Linked DNA regions of Homo sapiens: all the other regions are linked to region 1. The links are contacts of gene promoters, found by promoter capture Hi-C in human tissues and cell types (Jung and others, 2019). All regions are on one chromosome and are shown on one strand. The core of a region is centred on a gene start or on the middle of the fragment in contact, and the rest is flanking DNA. Distances in the headings are between cores, read along the strand shown. Region 1 holds the start of TAGLN3 (transgelin 3). Region 2 overlaps LOC107984087 (a long non-coding RNA gene). Region 3 has its middle 86 kb from the start of PLCXD2-AS1. Region 4 overlaps LOC105374040 (a long non-coding RNA gene).

The links. Contacts are between HindIII fragments. The study calls those that stand out against the background at their distance.
Region 2: a contact is called between a fragment that was not itself captured here and the fragment with the promoter of TAGLN3 in region 1, in 1 of the 25 tissues and cell types used here (bladder).
Region 3: a contact is called between a fragment that was not itself captured here and the fragment with the promoter of TAGLN3 in region 1, in 1 of the 25 tissues and cell types used here (IMR-90 fibroblasts).
Region 4: a contact is called between a fragment that was not itself captured here and the fragment with the promoter of TAGLN3 in region 1, in 2 of the 25 tissues and cell types used here (heart left ventricle and mesenchymal stem cells).

The regions. Positions count from the first base shown.
Region 1 is chr3:111,997,069-112,000,171 of GRCh38, forward strand. It overlaps TAGLN3 (transgelin 3), which reads left to right and starts at 1,854. Exons shown (of 5, transcript NM_001008272.2): 1 at 1,854-2,046; 2 at 2,353-2,534. The coding sequence starts at 2,355. The HindIII fragment of the contact is 6,637 bases long and covers 1-3,103 here.
Region 2 is chr3:111,787,464-111,790,167 of GRCh38, forward strand. LOC107984087 (a long non-coding RNA gene) reads right to left here. Exons shown (of 4, transcript XR_001740848.2): 3 at 1,428-1,565. It also overlaps a transcript of PHLDB2 not described here. Among named protein-coding and RNA genes, the nearest start is that of PHLDB2, 70 kb to the right of the region's middle. The HindIII fragment of the contact is 3,817 bases long and covers 1-2,704 here.
Region 3 is chr3:111,761,551-111,764,382 of GRCh38, forward strand. It overlaps a transcript of PHLDB2 not described here. Among named protein-coding and RNA genes, the nearest start is that of PLCXD2-AS1, 86 kb to the left of the region's middle. The HindIII fragment of the contact is 9,920 bases long and covers 1-2,832 here.
Region 4 is chr3:111,855,278-111,858,238 of GRCh38, forward strand. The region is part of intron 1 of LOC105374040 (a long non-coding RNA gene); the gene reads right to left. It also overlaps a transcript of PHLDB2 not described here. Among named protein-coding and RNA genes, the nearest start is that of PHLDB2, 2.5 kb to the right of the region's middle. The HindIII fragment of the contact is 6,150 bases long and covers 1-2,961 here.

The DNA of each region.
Region 1 (3,103 bases), core at 604-3,103:
TGAGGGACTCTTTGGGTACAAAAGATTTGCAAAACACAGTGTTTAAAAAAAGTCAAGCAAATGTACATCTTTAGAATTGTTTCAAGCTTTGCATATCAAACCAACAACTTCCTTAGAGCCATTCCAGCCATGGAAAAAATTATGTGGTTTCTGTTTGGGACTCCGTTCCCTTAGTCTAAGGTTGGAACTAGCCTTATGGCTCCTCCCCAAGATACCAATGATGACTTCCATAATTCTTCTGTCAATTTCCCTGCTCTAAGCTCTTCCCCTAAGCTCCAAGTGTCCCAACACAGTGCTGCTGTCTTTTGAGCTTCTTCAACTGATGATTCCATGCAGCATCAAGACCTGCCTTAGTCAGCCCTTCCCTTGTCTCTTCCTAAACCTACTGCTCTCCTGAATCTCCTAGTTTTCTGTTTTCAGAGGACTGTCTGCCAGGCCTTCAACGACTGACCGCTAAGTCTTTTTCAGGCAAACCACCCACATATCTCCTAAGTAATTAAATTTTCATTAGTCCAGGCATCAGCCGGTAGGAGATTTTTCTCAATACATGTATTATTTGAGGAGTCATTTCCTGCATAGCTTCTAATCAATTTCCCACAGGGACAAAGATCATCATCCCATGTACCCAGAATTGCTTTATTTAATATGCTTGAGTCAATTTATCAATCTGTTTTCAATGCAAGAATTGTATTTTATTCCTCCTCAGTCCAGTAGTTGGCATAAACACTCAGTAAATATCTGTTGAATGAAGAAATGAACCAAACGAAAAAAAATGTGGAATTTTTCTCATGAAAAACACCCAGAGAATTACACAACACCAATGAGACTCAATCTTTACCCACAAATGGCTTACAGTCTAGGAGGACAAACTGCCAAGCCCTTTAGCTGTTATAAAAATGTGGGGCCAACTTAGAGCTAATGGTTTCTCCTGAGTGCTTGTTTGCCCATGAGAAATATTCAGTTACTTCTGACAATATGTCGGTTGTGCCTTCACGGTCCTTACTTCAGATGAAGTCTTTACATTCTATCAAAACCTTTCACTCTAAGAGTTCTTAGTCGTTGAGTTTTGTTTAATTTATAAAACTTGCCGGGCGTGGTGGCTCATGCCTGTAATCCCAGAACTTTGGGAGGCCGAGGCAGTCAGATCACCTGAGGTCAGGAGTTCAAGACCAGCCTGACCAACGTGGCAAAACCCCATCTCCACTAAAAATACAAAAATTAGCCAGGCCTGGTGGCACACACCTGTAATCCTAGCTACCTGGGAGGCTGAGGCAGGAGAATCGCTTGAACCCAGGAGGCAGAGGTTGCAGCCAGCCGAGATTGTGCCACTGCACTCCAGCCTGGGCAACAGAGCGAGACTCTGTCTAAAAATATATAGTAAGAATTATAATAATAATTTATAAAACTTGTTCTTAGTGTCTTTCAGTTAAGAGTAGCATGAAAAAAATACCTCCCTTGAATAAGTCAAACTGAGGCACAACAGTTTCAGGATGGAAGTTTCTGGGTGAAGTTGGGCTGGCAGCTGAACAAGTAAATGATAGCAGCTCTCAGTCCCTCCCCTCCTGTCCTGCCAGACAGTTGTTACCTCAGGGCAGGGGGAAAGTAGCTTGGCTATTCCCGACAGATGGACAGTTGGTAGAACGGACCCTCCCACAGGCCCTCATCCCCTTGTGCAGCTGCTGGCCTCGTAGACAATCGGCTGTCTCCCCAGAAGAGGGAAAGAATTGTGCAGATGAGAAAGAGGCTCTCAGCGGGAGGGAGGCAGGCGGGCTTGATTGACACAGGAGAGGGCTGGCTTTTTGGAGGGCTCTTAGCAACGGCCCTGGTTGAGCCCCCTCAGCCATGAGAAAATCAAATCAATGTGCCATTCTTCCAGGCGCGAGGCAGCAGCGGCTGCAGTTCAACATGAAAGGAGGCTTCCTCCCTGCCTGCTAATTACCTGCTCTTCCCGATCTCATCGTTTCTGCCTTTGCAAAGTGCTACTGAGAAGGGGGAAGAAACGTCCGCCACCCATCCCCCTTGCTGCCTGGGGGTTCAGACTTGATTGTGAGTCCGTGTTATATCATCTGGTCTCATTGATAGGCGGGATAGGGAGGGGGATTCCAGCCCCCCTGGACCGGCCGGAGGTTTATTCTAGAGTTACTGGCGGGTAGCTGTGCTTTTCTTTCCCGTTTGTAGGTGAAACCCCATTGGCTTCATTGGCTCCTTGATTTAAACCACGCCCGGCTTTCTGCCCTCTTTGCTGCTGCTGGGCCAGGTTGCCCAGCCATATCCCAGCCCCGTCTGCAGGGAGCCGGAGGCTGCTGCTGCTGCTATTGTGTGGATGCCGCGCGTGTCTTCTCTTCTTTCCAGAGATGGCTAACAGGGGCCCGAGCTATGGCTTAAGCCGAGAGGTGCAGGAGAAGATCGAGCAGAAGTATGATGCGGACCTGGAGAACAAGCTGGTGGACTGGATCATCCTGCAGTGCGCCGAGGACATAGAGCACCCGCCCCCCGGCAGGGCCCATTTTCAGAAATGGTTAATGGACGGGACGGTAAGGCCGGCAGCGATCTCGGTTGCTGGGGCGGTGGGCAGGGAAACCCTCCAGGGCCCTTTCTTTTAACGTAAGGCTGCGGGAAGAGCTGCTGTTGCCAAGCTCTATGTCTCACCGGGAGGGGATGAGAATGCCTTTATTTCTTCAGGGTTGGAAGATTTGGGCTCCATGCACTATTCCCTAGCTAGCTTGGGGGTTCTCCACTCACCCTAGCATTACATCTCCCTTCTGAGTTGGCAAATTCGAAGCCCTTTTGATTTTTCTAATGAGAATAGAGATAAGTATGTCCTTGTAATTTCCCCAGCCTTCCTGGTGCATCAGCTCTTCTGGGGCCATTTCTTTCCCTAGGGGATCGTGTTGGTTACACAGTAAAACAAAGAAGGGAGGAGGGGGACTAGCCACCTTCACATTCTTGTGGGAGCCATGCACCCTGGAAGTGTTCAGTGTCTGTTTATTGAGTGGATGCGTTCTCATGAAACTGAAAGGAGTCCTTATTTGTTAACTGCATTTCTGACCAAATGCTCGTGTGTGTTTGAGGGTTTGAGGGCCGCAGGCTCTGTGATTCAAAC
Region 2 (2,704 bases), core at 23-2,522, 210 kb before region 1:
TCTCCATCATAACATTCACAGACCCTTTTCCTGACTTTTCATGGTGTGTGACTGTGGCCTGACACTTGCTACAGATGAGAACCCTTTCAAGCTAGAATTGGAGGGCTCAATCTACTTCTACCATTTTCAAAGACATGGTTGGTAGCTTGGGCTACTCTAGGCTTTCTCTTCTGTGTTCTCTGGGGCTCTGCTTCTGACCTGCCTTTTTCCTCTTTTTCCTTCTGGTCCACTTCACCTCAAAGAGGACACATGGGAGATAGGGGAGGCATTCCACAGCCACGGCCAAGAAGAAAGGACCACCCCGGGGTCGAGTCTCTGGCAGCGTACCCAATCTATTCTGGGGTGAATCCAACCTGATTGCATGTTTCTCTAAAATAGATCACCAAGTTGAAGATACACCAATTTTTTTCTACAGTTTTTAAATAAACTTAGACTTTGTAGTCCGCCAAAATAAACATTAGAGAATAAAGCAGTAAATTTTTCAGTAAATATATTAGAAATAGAGGGTAAGAAATCCTCCAGTCTGGCAAAGACTGGAATGGGAGCATGAATTGGAAACAGGTCAAGACTCCTGGCCATAAATAGTCTTCTCACTTTAACCAAGATGTTTGTCTCATGCATTCTGACCCAAGAAGGTTACTAGTTTCCAGGAGGAGAATTGGTGGGACTTTTCAGCCCTAAATGTGCTTAAAGGACAAAGGAAGGAAACTCAGTCACAGAAACGAGTGGATGGAAAAAACCATTATGCTATTTTTTTTTTAATGTCATTTCAAAGCAGTAATTTGGATAGATGTCATGTTGTTTCCTATGAATGCCATGGGGTTATATCTGGATGACTACCTTCCTATGACCAAAAACTAAGAGTGACATAGTGATAAATTCACCCAGGTCAGAAGTAGAGTCTGGGACTTTTGTGTGTCAGTCTGCTATTTAACACCAAGGCCTTTGTCCTCTAAAGGTAGAAAAGTCCAAGAGGAGAAAGCATGTGTCAATATTATTTTAAATGACATTAATTTGATATTCCCTAAATGAAAAGAAGATCTTTATAAAGACCCTTTGTCTCTTCTCCTGTTTACTTCTCCCATCTATCTACCTTTTATTCTTTCTCTCTAAAAAGAGCCTAAGATGATGCAGTAAGATTGAAATAGCTAAACCTACCACACAGGGATGCTTTAAAGCAAGCTTGTCCAACCTGAAGCCTGCAAGCCTCATGAGGCCCAGGACAGCTTTGAAAGCAGCCCAACACAATTCATAAACTTTCTTAAAACATTAGGAGATTTGTTTTGCAATTTTTTTTCAGCTCATCAGCTATCGTTAGTGTTAGTGTATTTTATGTGTGGCCCAAGACAATTCTTCTTCTTCCAATATGGCCTAGGGAAGACAAAAGATTACACACCCCTGCTTTAAAGAGTAAAAGAATAACTTACGGGAAAGCACCTATCAGACACATAGTAGGTGCTCAGTAAAGGAATAGCTCCATTTTCTTTCCTTGTTGGCAGAGGAAAAACATTGCAAGATCGTGGGTAGAGAAATGAAACGATGAGCGCTATATTATGTTCTTCTCCCTGTTGGAATCATATTGGTGAGAAAGGAATGCCAGGTTCACACATCAAATCCCTGAGTTTTACTTTTCCCAATCGTCACTGCAGGTATTTTTATCAAGGCGATGGAAAAAACAGTGCTCCCCACTCCTGGTCAATCAAAGAGGTCTCTGCTAAACAACAAATTATGCCTGTTGCTCAAGGTTCTATCAGATGCCTGGCATCAGATTAGGAGTTCCTTTGAAGAAAAGACTATAGACTCCAATAGAACTCCTTATTAGTCTGCTTTCTGAGAAGGTGTAATAATATGCTCTCTATGGGAACTACGTAGTCATTTGTTCAACCAACAATTAAGGAGGCACCACTCATAGTTGGTTACATAATTGGCAGATATCTTCCAGTCAGGATTATTTTAGAGGCCATAAAGAACAAAATGGTTTTGCTATAAGTACATTCTCCGTTTAAAAAAAGAAGAAAGATTTAACTGCTCTGACATATATACATGGGAAGCCATGTACTATAGTGAATGAGAGTGCAGATTTTGGATTCAAATGGTTCTCAGTTCAAATTTCTTTATTAATTTTGTGGACTTTGGAAAGTTATTTGACTTTTCTGAAATGCCATTTTCTCACCTGTAAAATAGCAATGGTAATAGCTTACTTTGCAGAGTTGTTCAGAATTACATGAGATAATAATATATATTATGTGCTTAGTTCATATGGTGTCTAACCCTATAAACAGCGACCAACAAATAGCAGTTACCGCCGTGCCAAAATTGGACAAGCTATCATCACCGGGGCTATGTGCCCTGAGTATTTTTGTTTGGCCCTTGTCTTTAGCCAACTGAGCAATACAAAACTGAGTTCCTGAGAAATCTTGGAAACAATGATTCTTTGGTTCTCACCACCCCCATATTGTGAAATCCATGATCTTCACATGGCAGATTCTATCCAACCAAAGCCCCTTCAGAATTTTGGAATGGAATTCTCATACCACAGCCAGTGCTATCATGACTCCATGGGCGTGAGGAGCCTGACTGGGGGCAGGGCGTTCAAATTGCCCTTGGATCTTATCAGCACCTCAGAAATGTTACAGCTAGTCAGCTACTAGGAAGTGGAGGCCTAGCCTCTTAATTTTGTTCCTGCTTAGAAATAGGCATACTC
Region 3 (2,832 bases), core at 105-2,604, 240 kb before region 1:
ATCATAGTTAGATCTCTATTCCTGATTTAACTCTCTGCTTTATCTACCCCAGAGGCCAGTCGTTCTCAAACTTCAGCTGCATTCAGATCACTTCAAGGGCTTGTTAAAACAGGATTGCTGATCTACACACCCAGAATTTCTGATTCAGTACATGTGGGTGGGGCAAGAGAATTTTTAGCTCTAACAAGTTCCCAGGTGATGCTGGTCGGGGATACCACACCATAAGACCCACTGCTTTAGGCAATACCGGTTTCAGAATTGAGCCACAGAGGCCATGACTGGTTTATTTACCTGGAAAACCAGCCCAACATTTTTTTTTAATAGCAGAAAAAGCATACAAATTTATTTAATGTGTATACATAAGAAGAATTACAGAGTAATTACCCCCAGCCTGACATTTCCTTAAAATAGGTGCTTGTATGTTCACCTAAAAGGGGCACTGCTAAAAGAGAGGATGAGGGGTCAGAGGAACACATTTTATCCAAAAAGGGATGCCCCCCCAATCCCATCCGCCACATTCAGCTGAGAACCAGACCAGCGTCTTAGCTATTAGTTCATTGCATGGGTTTTGGTGCCAGACTAGACTTAGATTTGAGATCCAAGTCTACTACCTAAGGTGATAAACTTAAGTCAGTCACTTACTTTTCTAAACTGCAGTACTGGAAGGATAACACAATTGATCTCAGAGGACTGTTGTGAAGTTTAAAGAAGATAATGTTTAGGAAGCTTTAACACAATAGCTCATGTATAGTAAGGCCTCAATAAATGCTAACTATATGTATTATTTAATTATATAACTAGCATTACCATATTATTATTATATAGCCAATATGTGTAATGTTTTGACACTGTCAATAAATTTTGAGGTGTTTATCCCATTTTCAGATATTGGAAACTAAGGCACAGAAGGGTTAAGTACCTTGCCCAAGGGCATCCTAGGGAGCGCTCTGAAGTTATGCCTTGTGATGCCACAATTATCATCATTCTAATCACAGGCCTCTAAGTGTGATCTGATCCAGACCTTCCACCCAGCCCTCCCAAGAACCTGGCCACACTCGTCAGGATTAAAGGAGGAGGTATTATTTCTTCAAGCCCTCCTGGAGTCTCTCTTGGCCTTTTTTGGCTCACATACTGCTGTACGTAGTTTGTGTCTGAAATGGAAAATTTCTGTAACACAATACCCAGCTCTGATCCCCACAGACTCTCAAATAATCTTTCTCTTTTTTTTCTTTTGGTTTGGGTTAAAATATGACTTCATGTGCAAAAAAGAAGCCTCATTTCCCAGCACTCTCAGCAGATTCATAAACATTGCAGACTCAAAGCCCTCTGGTTCCTAAGAGTTCCAAAGAATTAATTCTCCTTTTTTGAAAAAGGAGAGCAATGACTAAGAAGTGAGAAGAGAAATGGAAAGATTAAAACTAGCTGCCTGTTTGGTGCAGGGTATATAGCTCTGAGAGCCCACCCTCTTCTGCACCTGCAAGAATCCTTGCATGTCTCCCAGCACTTCTACAGGCAGCCCCAAGGAAAGGCAGGGAGCCATAGCTGCACTGAGCTTTATGATCCTGCCTGAAAGTGAGTATGTTAGGAAACTGGACAATGCAAATCAAGGATTTTAGGTATTTGATTCATTGACTCCCTAGCATTCTTCTCCCCTGGAGAGTCAACTCTTCACACACTGTTTATGCTGTGTGAACAATACAGTGAATTTCCCTTGAGTGAGTTATTTCTATGACAAGTTACTCTAACATAATAGCGAACTGCAAACTGCACAGGGCTTTGGAGCCCAACTGTTTGACTTTCATTTCCACCTCTACCACTTTCTAGCTGGGTGACCTAGGGCAATTTACTCACACTCTTCATGTTTTAGTTCGCTCATCTGTAAGTGGGACTTGTCATCAACTGTACATTGTGAGATTTTCCTAGGAATAAATTACTTAATAAATTATCAAGTGCTTAGGGCAGTTCCTGATACATAGTAAGCCCCATATGTCTTGCTATTACTATTTATTTTTATTATTATTGTTACTACAACTACTACTCTACTGCAAGGAAAAGAGCAGTGCTATAATCTGAATGTTTGTATCCCCAGAAATTCATGTTTTGAGATCCTAGGTGATGGTATTAGGTTGTAGTATTAGGAGGTGATTCGATCACGAGGACAAAGCCCTTGTGATTAGGATTAGTGCCCTCATAAAAGAGACCCCAGAGCAGGCCAGCCCCTTCTACCACATGATGACACAGTGAGAAGGCACCATTCGTGAACCAGGAAACAGTCCCTCACCAGACACTGAATCTGTTGGTGCCTTGATCTTAGACTTCCCAGTTCCTAGAACTGTGAGGAATGAATTCTGTTTTTTCTAAGCTACCCAGTCTATGATAAATTGTTAAAGCAGCCCGAACAGACGAAGACAAGCAGTTATGGCTATGTTTGCTCAAGAAAATATAATGCCAAAATAGAAAGGAAGCAGTTTGGCCTTCTGGTAATGGTATAACTCTGGATTCAGACAGACCTGCACATGACCTTTGACACCGCTACTCAAGTTGTGTGACCTTTGACAAGCTATGGAACCTCTTTAAATCCACTTTCCCGTTTATAAAATGGAGATAGTAACATTTACCTCATAGGGCTACAGGGAAGATCTGATGAAGTAATGTTTGGGAAGTTCTCAACTGTTGGTCAGCAGCCCAGGAATGGTAGTTATTGTGTGGCAAACTGGTCACATGAACAAAGAAATCCATTAAGTAAGTTTCTCCTAAAAGCACTTACAACCACCCTACTTGATACAACTGACTAAAACAATCCCAACATCTGAGATTCTTACCAAATATACA
Region 4 (2,961 bases), core at 202-2,701, 140 kb before region 1:
GTTTACAACACAATATCTCTAGTGATAAGGAATGGCAGAGCGCAGGCAGGACTCTGGTCTGTGATTAAACAGAAAACTTTATTATAAAGAACCCAGGAAATAGAAAAGGTAGAAAGACTCTCTCTTTCTTCCTTCCTTCCTTCCTTTCTTTCTTTCTCTCTCTCCCCCTCCCGCGCTTCCCTCTTTTTCCTTCCTTCCTTCCTCCCTTCTTTGCTTCCTTCCTTCTTTTCTTTCCTTTCTTTCTTCTTTCTTTCCATCACCATTACTAAAAGAAAGTCTGGTAATATAATAATAACAATAACAGTTGCACTTTATTGAGTGCTTTCTATAGATGTTGAGGTCTGCATTTGTCTTTTTTTTTTTTTTTTTTTTTTTTGGCGACAAGGTCTCACTCTGCCACCCAGGCTGGAGTGCAATGGTGCGATCATGGATCACCCAGCCTCGAATTCTCAGGTGATTCTCCCACCTCAGCCTCCTGAGTAGCTGGGACTACAGATGGTGCACCACCATGCCCGGCTAATATTTTTGTATTTTTAGTAGAGACGGGTTTTGCCATGTTGGCCAGGCTGCTCTGGAACTTCTAATCTCAAGCAATCCTGCTACCTCGGCTCCCAAGGTGTTGGGATTACAGGCATGAGCCATTGAGCCTGGACTGAATTTATCTAATTTAAGACTTGCACCTTCAGGGTGGTCTCGTCTATCTTCAGGCTGCTATGGCCTTATGAAAGCTATTGAAAACCACTCTAACTCATCAGGAATGGGAAACTTTGCTGGGTTTAGTCACTTGAAAAAGTCACATTCAATGACTACTTTTTGAGTCCCTTCCATATATAAGTCTTGGAGTATGATTCATACAAATATGAATAAAATGACTCCCTTTGCCTTCTAGGAGCTTGGCTATCCTAAGAGATAGAGATGCTAGCAGATAAAACAAGGCAGTGAAGGGAGGCCAGTGAGGATTACTTTTTGTCTAGTAATTTGGAATTATTCATTATACAGAAATATCCCCTAGTAACATTCATACTTAGAAAAGAGGTAGAAGGTAGCATTAAAGACAATGAACTCAAGAACAAGTGCTCAAATTCTGCCTCTACCAACTTATTACCTGAGTGACAACTGACTTCTCTGTGATTCCTTTTTTACTTATAAAATGGGAGTAGTAACAAACAGTAACTCTCACCGCATCAACTAATATTGTCCTATATTTGGAAGAATACCGGATACGTATACAATAGTAATTATTGCTCTCAATAAATTTAGCTATTTTTTTCTTAGACATAAATATTGGCAATCTAATTATGGCCATTCTAAATGTGCTGTGTTGGTGCACATTCTCCTTAGACCTGAAGGGAGAAAGGTTGTCTCTAAGATGTCTGTGTAGTCAAGTGTATTTCTGGCATTGCTCGAGGCAAGGAAATGTTTGCAACACAGTGCTTTGGGTCAAAGCCATCATTTATTCTTGAGCACCATTTACATGTCCGGTATCCTTGTAGGCACACTAGGGATATAGCACTGGAGAGAACAGGCAAAACTCTCTGCCTGCCTGCCTTACATTCTAGTGAGGAGAGACAGACAATAAACATAATTTAAAAAGTACATTTTACAATATAGTAGAATGTGGTGACTTTGTCAAAAAGTAAATTTAAGTAGTATGGAAAACACATTTTAAACTTTTAAGTAGAGTGGTCAGAGCAGGCCTGAGCAACACGGTGACATTGAACAGGGTCTTGAAGGAAGTGAGGGAGTGAACCATGCAGATACTTGGGAGGAGGGAATTATAGGCAGAGAGGGCAATTAGAACAAAGGCCCTGAGATAGAACGGATTTACCTAGGAATCTAGTCTACGAGGCCACTGTGGCAGGGGCTAAGTGAGTGATAAAGGGGAAGTAGGAGGCTGGGCACAGTGGCTCACACCTGTCATCCCAACACTTAGGGTGGCGGAGGCAGACAGATCGCTTGAGCCCAGGAGTTCAAGAACAGTCTGGGCAATGTGGTGAAACCCCATCTCTGCAAAAAATTCAATATTAGCTGGGCATGGTGGTCTGCACCTGTGGTCCCAGCTATTCAGGAGGCTGAAGTGGGAGGATCACTTGAGCCCAGGAGGTTAAGGCTGCAGTGAGCTATGACTGTGCCATTGCACTCCAACCTGGGTGACAAAGTGAGGCCCTGTCTCAAAAAAAAAAAAAAGAAAAGAAAAGAAAAAAAAATTCCAAGGTAATGGAAATAAAATGATTGTATGTTTATGGGGATGATCCAAAAAAGAGGAGGAAAGAGATGACGTGGGTGAGAAAAGAACATTGCTGGAGCACTTAACTGTTTAACTGTTGGATTGATCAGTGTATGTATGCTTCTGCAGGGCAAAAACTCAGGACAGGGAAAAGAATTCCTCTAAAAAACCCGGCATTCCTAACAAACATATGAAAAAAAGCTCATCATCACTAGTCATTACAGAAATGCAAATCAAAACCACAACGAGATACCATCTCACGCCAGTTAGAATGGCAATCATTAAAAAGTCAGGAAATAACAGACGCTGCAGAGAATGTGGAGAAATGGGAACGCTTTTACACTGTTGGTGGGAGTATAAGTTAGTTCAACCATTGTGGAAGACAGTGTGGCGATTCCTCAGGGATCTAGAACTAGAAATACCATTTGACCCAGCAATCCCATTACTGGGTATATACCCAAAGAATTATAAATCATTCTACTATAAAGACACATACAAACGTATGTTTATTGCAGCACTGTTCACAATAACAAAGACTTGGAACCAACCCAAGTGCCCATCAATGATAGACTGGATGAAGAAAATGTGGCACATATACACCATGGAATACCATGCAGCCATAAAAAAGAATGAATTCATGTCCTTTGCAGGGACGTGGATGATGCTGGAAACCATCATTCTCAGCAAACTAACACAGGAACAGAAAACCAAACACTGCATGTTCTCATCATAAG